3 separate regions of the Homo sapiens genome follow, and regions 1 and 3 are each linked to region 2. Evidence: promoter capture Hi-C in 16 types of primary human blood cells and fetal thymus (Javierre and others, 2016). All regions are on one chromosome and are shown on one strand. Each heading gives the region's core, a stretch centred on a gene start or on the middle of the fragment in contact. The rest is flanking DNA. Distances are from core to core; before and after follow the strand shown.

Region 1 (4,408 bases), core at 1,451-3,950, 740 kb before region 2:
GCCGGTAATAAGGTTGTTGAGATTTTCTTTAGATGTCATTGTTTTCTATTTGTCTTAGTATTTAATAATTTTTTTTTTACCCTCAGTTTCAAAATTGTGATTTACTTTTTCAGAAGTATTTTTACTCAAAACACTTCTGACACCAAATGTGTGGGGTATTTTTGTTCACCCAACAACAAATTCTTCAGTTTTCTAGATATCAAATGGGTGTCCTAAAATTCAATTCACTTCTGACACTAACTACCAGAAGTTAGTGCAGACCTCACAAGTTAAGGGCTTAGTCCTACAAGAATATTAGCATTTCAGACACCATTCTAAGTCCCAGGTTTCTACCTGTACTCCAGAAAACTGGCTATAAATTGGGGTTTCACATGAGCCCCTCCTCAGGTTTGATAATTTGCTAGAATAGCTCACAGAACTCAAGGAAACACTGTACTTACTCCATTTATCATAAAGGATACAAATGAACAGCCAGATGAACAGGTACACAGGACAAGGACCAGTGGGGTCCCAAGCTCAGGAGCTTCTGTCCCTGTGGGGCTGGAGTGTGCTACCCTCTCAGCATGTGGATATATTTACTATCCTGGAAACTCTCAGAACCTCATCATTTAGGATTTTTTTATGGAGGTGCCATTATATAGTCATGATTTGATTAAATCATTGGTCATTGGTCATGGATTCAGTCTTTAGCCCTTCTCCTTTTCCCAAGGACAGGAGGTGGGGCCTTGATATGGTTTGGCTTTGTGTCCCCACTGAGATCTCATCTTGAATTATAATCCCGTAATCCCCACATGTCATGGAGGGACCTGTTGGAAGGTAATTGAATCATGGGTGCGATTCCCCCATGCTGTTCTCAAGATACTGAGTTCTCACGAAAGCTGTTGGTTTTATAAGTATCCGGCATTTTCCCTGCTGGCACTCATTCTCTCTCCTACTGCCCTGTTGAGTGCTTTCCACCATGATTGTAAGTTTCCTGAGGCCTCCCCAGCCATGCAGAACTGTGAGTCAATTAAACCTCTTTTCTTTGTAAATTACCCAGTCATGGGTATTTCTTCATAGCAGTGTATGTGACAATACAGGGCTCTAATCACTTGGTTGGTTCCTCTGACAACCAGTCCCCATCCTGAAGCTATCTAGGGGCCCGCTGTATTAGTCCATTCTCACACTGCTATAAACATACCTGAGACTGGGTAATTTATAAATTTATAAAGAAAAGGTTTAATAGACTCACAGTCTGTGGGCTGTACAGGCTTCTGCTTCTGGGGAGGCCTCAGGAAACTTGGAATCATGGTGGAAGGTGAAGGGGAAGCAAACACATCTTCACATGGCCAGCAGGAGAGAGAGCATGAAGGGGGAAGTGCTGCACACTTTGAAACAACCAGATCTCATGAGAACTCTATCACAAGAACAGCTAGGGGGAAGTCTGCCTCATGATTCAATCACCTCCCACGAGGCCCCTCCTCCACTGAAAATTTCAAATGAGATATGGGTGGGGACACAGAGCCAAACCATATCACCCATCAAGAAACACCTCATTAGTATAAATTGAGGTATGTTTTAAAAGGACTTATTATGAGTAACAAAAGATACTCCTCTTATCCTTCTCATTCAGGGAATTATGAGGGTTTTTAGAAGCTCTGTGCCAGGAACTGCAGTGAAGATCAAATATATATTTTTTATTATATCACAAATCACACTTTTGTATTCTAATCTTGTAATAGTTTTATTATTCCTTAATTGTTGCTGGGTCTGGGTGTTTTTTTTTTAATACCTTTGTTATAAAATGCTTGAAGATATGATTAGTGTACTATGTTAATCATTATAAGTTATTTTGTGTCCTGTGAACAGGCAACCTTCAAAAGATCCTGTCCCATGATCATCCTCCAGAGTATTCAGCTGATTTCTATGCTGCCTACATTAACATTCTTCTTGGAGTTTTCTACACTGTTTGTCGAGATTTGAAAGAGCTCAGACATCTGGTAAATGAACATTTTGCTTGAATATATATATATGTGTGTGTGTGTGTGTGTGTGTATACATATATGTGTATATATGTATTTTAATGTTTTCCATGTAGAAATGGTATGAGATAGGTTAGAAACTGAAATTTTATTCTGGGAATTTGCATATGGCCTCTAGAGACTAACATACCATAAGAAGGTAGATGTCTGTGGGTTAGTACAAACTTTGATTGTTTGATCTGATCAGAAAAATGTCATTCTCAGATCTTCTTACTCTTCCTTGTTTTTTCTCTAATTGCAGAAAATGCAGAACTCCATAAAAATCAAAATGAGGAATAACAGAAAAGAGATGTAAAAACTTGAGCAGTTTTACAACTCTGTTAATATTTTGTAACAGATTTTGTTCAAGTTTTATGTATGCGGTGATTGAGGTCTAGAATCTAGATGGATTTGAGTATGGTCAGAAGCTTTCATTGCAGGTCTTTCATTAACCACTGACCCTGAGCTGGTAATCTTTGTATAGATGGTTCTTTTTAATTTTTTTTTTTTAACAATTAGAATAGCTGTTTATATTTCATAGACAGTTTGGAAAATGTTGATGTTTAATTTTTCTTTGACCTTTTTTGTTTTAATTGTAGGGATGGGAAAGGAAAGAGACAAGAATTTCTGTTTTCCCTTTTAGAAATCTTCAATTAATTAAGATCTTATCTCCATTTAACAGAAAATAGTAATATATCTGAGGCTGGAAAACAGTCACTTTCAAAGTAACAGATTCTATGTCTCTTAGCACATTTTCTTCACTTTGTTCTTTTTCTGTTTTTGCCCTGAAAAGTATTACTTAGTTTCAGTGTGTGTTTGCGACAGAACACAGAAGGCAATCATTTAAAATTATGCTCACATTTAGTATGTTTTTGAAAGTTTCAGATTTCAGGGCTCCTCTGATTTACATGTAGATTTCAGACATCTTCTCAGCTGGGAAAAAACAAAACAGTTTTTCCAGTTCAAGCTTATCACTAACATTCCTCTAGAAGTTGGATGTCTTGGGATCCCTGGCTTCTGAGGGAAATGATAACACAAGAGACTTACAGAGAGGAGAGGGTCAGGAAAACGCACCTGAGTGAGATGGACTTAGGAGCAGATAATCCTCCTCGGTCTTTCCTGGAAAGTAACTTGCAGTTACCACTCTTTAGCACTCGAATCCTGTGGGAATCTGTGCTGACAGCCATTTCAAAGTAGATTATAAAGTACAAGAAGGAAAAATTTAGGGAAAATATTTATGGGAAAATAAAATGTAAAGAGAGAAATATATATTTAAATGTGGTATTTTTTAAAGTTCTTCGAGTTTCACTGTGGAATGATTTTATTTAGGGTGAGGTTACAGCTTTTTAAAAAATAATATTCATAAATGTGTAGTATGGTTTAAGTCTTATACTACTATTGGTAATAATAGAGAAAAGGATCCTTAAACATTAGAGAAAAATAGCACAATGTTCTTAGTTTTCTCTATATATAGAACATGGAAGAATAAAGATATTCATTTTCTTTTTTTTCTTCAGATAGTGTTGTTTGTGTTTGTTTCAAAGTTTGTAAGTGGCATATTTCTTGAAAGTTTATTAAATCACCTGAAAAATATTCTTTTCAGGGATCTTTTCTGGAAAGATGCTTTATGAATTGATATTTCTGTATTTTTCAGAGGCTAGTTCTATAGGTAGCTTAAGATAGGAGAAAATGAAGTACTACTTTGATATTCATTTAGGTTTGTTTTCTCTAACAAACCTTATGATACTGCCTTTTTAACTGTTATTCATAAATTATTAAACATATTTTAGTGTTTCAACCAAAGAGAAAATCAATACAGTTGCCCCTTGGTATACTTGGGGGATTGGTTCCAGGACCAGTCCCATATATATCAAAATCCTAGCACACTCAAACCCTGCGATCAACTCCGCAGAACCTGAGTGTAAAAAAGTTAGCCCTCCATATACATGGGTTTTGTATTCCCTGAGTACTGTTTTTGATCTGTGTTTGTGATCTGTGTTTGGTTGGAAAAAAAAAAAAATCTGTAGACAAGTGGACCCTCACAGTTCAAACCTATGTCGTTCAAGGGTCAGTTGTTTATTTTGATTAGCCAAATTGTGTACCAGTTGCTGTTAACATTATGACACTTTAGTGTTATTACACCATGCTTAGATCTGAAAATCTAAAATTAAGGTAAGAAAGTTTGGCTAAAGCGAATAATTTCTTTTTGATTCTTCTTCTCTACACTTAGTAGAATTTGGAAGATTTTTCTATTTTAAATCATTGTTTTTTATGAAGTAGAATAGGAAGAAATTATTTTAATGATTTGGTTCTTAGTTTTCTGTTATCTAGTTATATGTTATATAGTTACACATTTATATATATCTTTTTCTGTGCCTTATTGAATTATTTTGATATGAAATACTTGG
Region 2 (3,861 bases), core at 145-2,644:
GATCCGCAGGTGATTCCTATGCACATTAAAGTGTAAGAAGTACTGGGCTACAGACAGGTATGTGACAAAATAATTTCATAGGATGGCAAAGGCCAAGTGGCAAATGAAGGACACCAGAAATGCACGTCCCAGGAGCCCAACTCCTCCTTAGTAAATTACCCTATTAAGATTTGTTTAGAGATGTTCAAAAGCGTGGAGAAAAGCAAATTTGGTTTCCTCAGCTAGGGACGCGGAGAGTGGTCTGGTGCCCTTGAAGAGATCGCCCTCGTGTGGAGTAGGGAGGGAATCTCTAGCCTTTCCTCTCGGATGAAGAACAGCACCAGCGCTCCCAGCCAAAGGCCTGGCCCAGGTTCTGGAGGTGGGGTCTCCTTGGCAGAAGCCTCTGGTGTCTGCAGGCGTGCATTTACAGCTTTAAGACCAAACAGCTAGTCCGCCACGTGTCACTACAGTGTGCACGCGCAGAAATGCACAAAGCAAAAAAAAAAAAAAAGATGCTCTTAATGAACCAACTATAATCCTTGCTAAGGCATAAAGCCAGAGGGAAGTATGTATCTGAAATCATTTTCTACCCCTCACCCTCTTGGAGCCCGGCACTCTGGCTGCGGTGCTCTCTTGTATCCCAGTTGCTAGATGCAAAACAAGCTATTTCCTATCTAATTTTTTTTTTTAAGAGACGGAGTCTCGCTTTGTTGCCCAGGCTGGTCTCAAACTCCTGGACTCAAGCAATTCTCCCAGCTTGGGGTAACGTGTTACATTATTCTACTTAATAAAAAGCAAAAGTTGTTTTATAAATTCTAACTTAAATGCCCAGAAAATAACTTATCATGCATTGCCTTGTCGTGCAATAGTCAATATTTGCAAACCAAGTGTTAACCAAAGGCAGTTCATCAAAGATTTTTGAAAATTAAAAAAAAAAAAAAACTCATACTCACATTGTCCTCAGGATTTCCTGTTTTCGAAATGTTCCTGTACGAATCGGAGTCTCTATAATGATTGTAATTGAAAAGATAAGTCAGGTTTTTTGTGTTTTTTTTTCATTTTAAAATCATAATACGCAATGTTTTCCACTTGAACGCTATACCTTGTGTATTGTGCTTGCTTCAGCCTCGAGCCTCTACTGATGTTCCACCTCAAGGCGACAGGAATGCCACCTGGAGAAACTCCTGGGCGGTATGGGAAGAAAGCCGGTCTCATCAGAGTATATTTGCGGGGATCGACGACCAAGGTGTTAAATTCCAAGCACGCTTTGGAAAGTTCTAGGTGCTTGGGAAGAGATCCGTAGGCGGCAGGGATGCCCGCGCCCCGGCGTCCCAGCGCGGAGGGTGGCGGCGGGGCCTGGCCCTAGCGGGGCGGGGCGGGCTCGGGTTACCGGGAGTCGCGGGGCGCGGCCGGCACTGCCCGCGGCGCCTCCTCCTAGAGCCGCACCTGGAGGCAGCGCGCGCGTCGAAGAGGCAGCGGCTGTGGAGCGCGGCGGGGCGGCTCCGCCCAGGGCAGCCCGGGCTGGTGAGTGCGCGCGGGCGGCCGCGGGGCCGGGGGTCGCGGTCCCTCGGGAGGGGACTGAGCTGAGGCCCGCGGGCCCACCCGAGCAGGGGCCCTCGCTGTCACCGCCTCTGCCCCTGTCTCCCAGGCCCCATGTCGCGCTTTTTCCCTAAACGAACCGGTGACAGGGCTGACCTGCCCGCACTCTGCTGGTCCCTACGCCGGGAAGGAGAAAGTCTCACGAAGCTCTTTCCTTTGCAACCCCTGTCCCCTTGCCCTCTGCAGCTCCACACAGCATTTTTACTTCCCGTTTGCCTCCTCGAATCCCTTCGGTGCTAATCCAGCCCTTCGCCGTTTCCAGTTTGGGTCTGGCCTGTTTGTATCCAAATCGAATTACACAAAACCAGGCCCTCAGTTCTGCCTCTGGCCCTCTTTCCGGAGACGGGCCCTGCCTCCTCCTGTGCCGGGCTGGGCTTGCCCGGCATTGGCCGCCCGGAGCTCCCAGGGAGCAAGGCTGTGGTCCCGAAACTGGGCCCTCCGCTCAGCGCCGGGCAAGGCTCAAACCCCGGGTCTCTGACTTATCCGGTCACGAAGGGACTGCTCAGAGCCTAACAGCCCTAAAATTTGGTATTGGCCCCCTCCCGGGAAATCCTTCTCCCTACCAATCAGGCATCGCGGCAGGTGCTCTGCCATCATAGAGGCTCTGACACGCTGAACTCTCGAAGCTCGCGGCAGTGTTTATTTTTAGGAGAGATTTAGTTGATCGGGAACCAATTGACTTGGTTGACTGCCTCATCTAGTGCGCACCTGGGCCGGGCCCCGCCGGGAAGGCGTGCTGGACGTTCTCAGTGAGCTCCGAGACCTACAGAAGAAACAGCTGCAAGGATCCGATCAGCTAGCTGTGAAGAAAGCCTCAGATACGCTGTGGGGTGGGCAAAATTCTTTTCCTAGCTTCGATGAGTACTGTGGATTCTAGAATTTAAACAACATTCATGGAGACTCTTAAAACAACAAAAAATATCAACTTTTTGCGGGCACAGACTGAGATTTAGCTTTTTCCTATCTGAAAACTGAACAATGTGCACTAGATATAAATGTATTATCTAAAGTTTAGGAATTTACAGCATAGAAATGCAGGGGAATTCGGAGTATGCAATACGAAGTATCAACCTTTTTGAAAATGAAATTTAAAATGTATTTTTGTCAGGCATTCCTTCTAATTACGGTAGTATTGCTTTGTATCAGAAGACTTTCAGGCAAAGGACAGGAGGGAAGAGAGAGAAATTCAAACTAATTTGCATTAGAAAGAAACTTAGGGTGAAGAATTGCCTAGGTAAGGTTGCTATAGCTCATATCTTAAGTGCACTCTTGGAAAGCTTTCTAGTCTATTAGGTAACACCTGAAGCCCCAATTCTCTTATGTAGCATTTCTTTTTTTCTCTCTTTAACTACTCTGAAACTATACAGAGTTACACGTTCCTCATTAATTTATGAGTGAAACCAAAAGAATTGACTCAATCCAACAAGTATTTGAGTGCTTTTCGCATAGAGGCGCTTTGCTAAGAACAGAAGAATGGAAGACTGAGGAAGTTTCTAACAATCAATGGATTGCCTTGTGAGGTGTAGATGCAGGTGTGCACTGCCTATTTAATTGACGATCAAAGTCAGTTGAGTTTTCATCTCATTCTAAATATCATGTGTTGCCCCCTGGTATCTTAATTTTTCTACCGTTGCAGGTAGTCTGCATTTTAGTAACCCAAGTGAAACAGTTTTCTAGGGAAATCATGATAAATAGGAAGCACGTCCGTATTCCCAGGTGTTCTCATTATCATTAAGTTAATAAAGTTAAGAAAAATAAGATGATGATTTTCCTTTCTTTTGGTTTCAAACTAGTGAAATCTTGCACAAAAGACACAGCATGGATAAATTTAATCATTTTGTGACTCAGAGTACATTTTATGTAAGTCCATTCTGTTGGAGGATAGATCCAATTTCATGAACTCTTTTAATCCTTCTTTTGAAGACTAGTTCCAGGACCAACTTCATAAAATGTTTTATTGTAGGTACCAACAACTATCAACATCATTATCTTCTCCCCACCTTCACCCTTGAAAACAATTGTATTCTAGAGGATTATGAAGGAGGGGACAGGACTCTTTCAAAATCTGGAGGACACTAGGGACTTACCCCAGAAAAAAAATAAAAAAGCTCACCCATTCAAAATCTTGTACACCTTTCAGAGGATTCCTGGTGCCCAGGTTATGAAAGCTCACTTCAGAACGGGTCAGCGAATTAGTCAGAGGATAGGTAGATGGAGGGAAAGGGAAATGAAGCAATGTGGGTAAATTCACAAACTGAGTGGATATGACTTAATTTACTTTCA
Region 3 (4,463 bases), core at 402-2,901, 720 kb before region 2:
TGAAAATTATTGTAAATATTGAAGTGTCTTATAGATATTAGATTAAGCCTAGATTACAAATCAATATAGGAAACCTAAAAATATCAACACTGTCTGCTTTTCTTTCTAGTCAATTTTTTTTACCATTTTTCTCTCATGAATGCCTTATTCTATCACTAACTATTCCTTAATAATTTTGTTTGATTTCAGTTTAATTAACTGATTAGCCTATAATTCAGGTAAAAATTTGGTAGTTTCTTAATTAGCAGAAATACTACAAAGATACTATTACTCCTTTTCCTTTTTCAGTAACAAAAATTCATTTAATGAGAGTTTTTAGAAATCATAGAATGGAAAAGCTTGTGATCTTCTAAATGTAGGAAAACTTGTTTGCTTGTTAAAATGATTCTTACATAATAATGAAAGGACTTCTAGTCCCATAGGATAATTATGGCCACCTAAATTCAATTGTGTCCACAATATCAATAAAGAGAGCTAATAGAACCACCCATAACTCTTGCCTGCTGTATTAACAGGAGTTAGAGATTGCTACAAGCTTCATTTTATATACCAGTAGTGAAGTAAACAACTGAAACCAACAGGGCCAGCTCTGGAGCTCATGCTGAGGTGAAAAGTCAAACAAAGACTGAAAGGAAAAGAGAAGATTGTTGGGACAAGGGATACGTTGACTAGTAGTGGTGAAATACAAATGAAATTACTTGAAGAAAGAGAGTTCAACCCTGAGTGAGAAAGTATTGAACAGTTCTGAGGCTGGAAGGATTAGAGCACTGGCTACTGGAGAATCAAAGTGACATTTTGTTTTTTGTTTTTTTGTTTTTTTGAGACAGGGTCCCATTGTCTCGTCCAGGCTGGAGTGCAGTGGCAAGATCACAGCTCATAGCAGCCTCAACCTCCCTAGGTCCAGGTGATCCTACCACCTGAGCCTCCCGAGTAGCTGGGACTATAGGCATGCGCCACCACACCTGTCTAATTTTTTGTATTTTTTTTGTTTTAAGAGTATGGGGGCCAGAGTTAGCATGATAGTCTTGGGAAAGTACTGTTTTGAGGAGAGACAAGTAGTTGATTCAGAAGGGTGTGGTATTCCTTTGAGAGTTGGTAATGAAGGAAAAGAATGGAAAGAAAGGATAGAAATTAAAGATTCCTCTCATCCCCCAAATAAAAAAGAAATGACAAAATCAGAAGCTAATCCCTCCTTTTCATAATAGCACCATATATTAAAGAAACTTGACTTCATTATTTTTCCAGAAGGGAGCACTTTAGAATTAAGTAATTGTGCCATTCCGCAACCTTACCCCTGCATTCATAAAGTCACCTGTTATTACTGACCAAGCCAAACATTAGGTATTTCAAAATGAATAAAAGACAACATGGAAAAGCCATGTAAAGGTATTATTTAGGAAGAAACAGAAAATGTGAATAAAACAGTTTAGTTGATGAACATTTCCCCCTTAACACCCAAAACAAAGCAGAGGAAGACTGCAATACCACACCTTTACTTGGTTTAGGTTTGTTTAAAAAGCATTTTCAGGTATGGAAAGCATTCTTTAAGTTTGAAATTCAATAACTTAGAATAAATGGACAAAGAACAGGGGGATGTGAAATAAAAGTTGATCAAACTCAGGAGCAAAGTTCAGGCAATAGTAGTTATCTCAGAAATGAAAATGAAAAAATAAGATATCCAAAGGAAAGTAGATTCAACTGAGAATATAGTAAGAGACATTGAGGAAAGGACTGAAAATAATCAAGAGAACAAAACTAAAAAAAGAGGTAAAAATAATCAGGTAGGATGTGACAAATATGATAGACAAAGAAGATTTAACATATATTTAATTGGAGCTCCTGAAGACAGAAAAGAACAATGGATTGGAGTTAAGATCTAAAATTATAATCCAAGAAAACGTTCCAGAAATAGAAGACCTAGCTTTACACATTAAAACAGTTCATTTTCCCAATTAATCCAGAATGATCAATTCTGAAACTGTACTAGTATATTGTACTGTAACAAATTATCAGAAATTTAGTGATTTAGGACAACACATAGTTACTGTCTTACAGTTTTGTATGTCAGAAGTCTAAAACAGGTCCACAGGGCTTTTCTTCTGGAGGTTCTCAAGGAGAATCTATTTCTTTGCCTTTTCTAACTTCTAGAGGCTGCCTTCATTCCCTGGCTTGTGGTTCCATTCTCCATCTTCTAAGCTAGCAGTGTAGCATTTTCTCTTCTCTCTGACTTGTCTTCCTCTTAGAAGGATCCTTCTGACTCTATTGGGCCTATCTGGATAATGCAGTGTAATGTCTATCTGAAGATCCTTAACTCAGTCACATCTGCTAAGTCCCTTTTACCCCATAAGAATGTATTCACATGTTCTAGGGATTTGGACTTTGGTATCTTTGGAGGCAGAGCCATTATTCAGCCTACTACAGAGACTTCTTGGAAAGCATTTAGACTTTAAAAATAACAGAAAAAAACCTCTGAGCTTTCAGGCAAAAAATAAAAGTCACTTACAAAGGAAAGTCAGTGAAAAAGTGAAACAAATGGATCAACAATTTCAAGAAACTCAAGGAGAAAGGAAGTGTAAGCCAAATAATTTTATGTTCAGTCAAACCTGTCATTGAACTATCAAGGCTAGAGAAAAACAATATTAAACATGGAAGAACTCAGAGAACACTACTCATAAGACATTTCTTAGGACGACCTTGATGTGAAAAAGAGATGACTGGAGAAACTAACAAAAGGATTGATGATGAACATTGAATTTAATTAAGCTTAGCTCCAAACTAAAATTAAGGTGGAAATAAGAGTAGAAGAATAGTATGTAAATATTATGTATTCTGACAAGGTAGGAATATTACAACTTAAAAATTGGGAAAAGAAGGAAAAGAGAAAGGGGAAAATTAAACTTGTTGATTGCTATACAGGTGAGAGATGGGCATCAAAGAATACTTCAAAAGCTAAAACTACTTTTTTTAAAGTATACTCAAAGAAGGCCCACACTCATCCTTATCACTTCCACCCTGTTCTTCATGCAGATTTTGGATATTTAATTGTTCTAATCTGGCATTATTTTTAAATTAGCCCTGTAAATTAGCTCATTTTTAAGAGTTCTGTGAGAGTTTTAGAGTTGGTGAGCACCTTTGCATCAAACTGCCTTATTTTTTTTTATGAGTAAACTATTCATTTTTTCGAAGTCATGCAGCTAAAACTGTCGTAGGGCATTCTTTACTCATTATACTATAGTGTGTTGCCTTATAAATTCAATTTGTCGTGTCATAATCACTTCATATTCTTAATAGTGTTTTGGTTGTTTAACAGTTTTAATTGCAAATAAGTCCAGGATGGGGCAATTAAAATACCTTGAACTCTGCAAGCATCCTACAAGGATTCGACTCGTAGCTCTAGTATTGACTGGCTAAATGTCCTTGGGTGACTTAATCTTTGAGCCTCAGTTTTCTGGTGTGATACCTACTTTGAGGGATTGCTATAGAGTTTAGAAATAGTATATGACAATTGCATCTAATACGGTAACTAGAACATTGGGAGTTTTACCGAGTGGTAGGTGGTAGTATTTATTGGTTTTTTGTTTGTTGTTGTTTTTTTTAAAGACAGGCTCACTCTCGCCCAGGCTGGAGTGCAGTGGCACAATCTCAGCTCACTGCAACGTCCACCTCCCAGGTTCAAGTGATTCTCGTGCCTCAGCCACCCAAGTAGCTGGGAGTATAGGCATGCGCCACCATACCCAGCTAATTTTTGTATTTTTAATAGAGATGGGGTTTCCCCATGTTGCCTAGGCTGAGCTTGAACTCCTGGCCTCATGTGATCCTCCTATCTTGGCCTCCCAAAGTGCTGGGATTACAGGCATGAGCCACCACACCCGGCCTGGGTGAAGTTTTTTGATAGCTACAACAGTCATCATAGTAAAAGAGATTATTAAAATAGTTAATATCTAGGTATTGCTTTATAAATTTATGACATTCTAATATATACATTAAATTATTTTGTACAGGTACAAACATGTTTATTGCATGTATATATTTTTCTTTTCTGTTTTGTTAATAAATAAAAAAATTTAGTTTTTCTAGGGCTCTGTTTTAAGTACACCATATTGATTTTATTTATTTTTAATTCATTTTTGCTCTTCTATTTTTTTTCAGTTCCCAGTGGGAAAAGCTACAGAAAGATGACACAGATCCGGGGCAACTGAAAGGTATCAGAGGAAGTATTGAGACAGTTACCGGAGATACTTCTTCAGCTAATTATCAAGATACTAAAGTTAATACTAAAGAGCATTCAGTCAGGAAATAGTGTTATAAAAGAGAATTTACTTTTCAAGCTATAATGCTATTTTGATTAATGATTTTTCTTTAACTGAAGCTCTAATTTAATGGGAGGAAATAAAAGTTTGAATACCAGCTTTCTATTTTCTAAATATTGGATTATATCATGAAAATCAAGCAGTTTCTATTTC

The links. The method cuts DNA at HindIII sites, captures the fragments that hold promoters and counts their contacts. A CHiCAGO score of 5 or more calls a contact.
Region 1: a contact is called between a fragment that was not itself captured here and the fragment with the promoter of SLC26A5 in region 2, in 1 of 17 cell types (erythroblasts). The highest score is 6.0, in erythroblasts.
Region 3: a fragment that was not itself captured here is called in contact with the fragment with the promoter of SLC26A5 in region 2 in 7 of 17 cell types (erythroblasts, megakaryocytes, non-activated CD4 T cells and 4 more); the score reaches 10.8 in erythroblasts.

The regions. Positions count from the first base shown.
Region 1 is chr7:104,185,822-104,190,229 of GRCh38, reverse strand. It overlaps ORC5 (origin recognition complex subunit 5), which reads left to right. Exons shown (of 14, transcript NM_002553.4): 6 at 1,849-1,979. Among named protein-coding and RNA genes, the nearest start is that of ORC5, 20 kb to the left of the region's middle. The HindIII fragment of the contact is 539 bases long and covers 2,431-2,969 here.
Region 2 is chr7:103,443,740-103,447,600 of GRCh38, reverse strand. It overlaps SLC26A5 (solute carrier family 26 member 5), which reads left to right and starts at 1,394. Exons shown (of 20, transcript NM_198999.3): 1 at 1,394-1,503. It overlaps SLC26A5-AS1 (SLC26A5 antisense RNA 1), which reads right to left and starts at 2,394. Exons shown (of 4, transcript NR_110141.1): 1 at 1,082-2,394; 2 at 933-984. RefSeq lists a silencer at 1,319-1,388 and an enhancer at 1,445-2,021. The HindIII fragment of the contact is 4,246 bases long and covers 1-2,857 here.
Region 3 is chr7:104,168,212-104,172,674 of GRCh38, reverse strand. It overlaps ORC5 (origin recognition complex subunit 5), which reads left to right. Exons shown (of 14, transcript NM_002553.4): 9 at 4,150-4,202. Among named protein-coding and RNA genes, the nearest start is that of ORC5, 38 kb to the left of the region's middle. The HindIII fragment of the contact is 2,228 bases long and covers 538-2,765 here.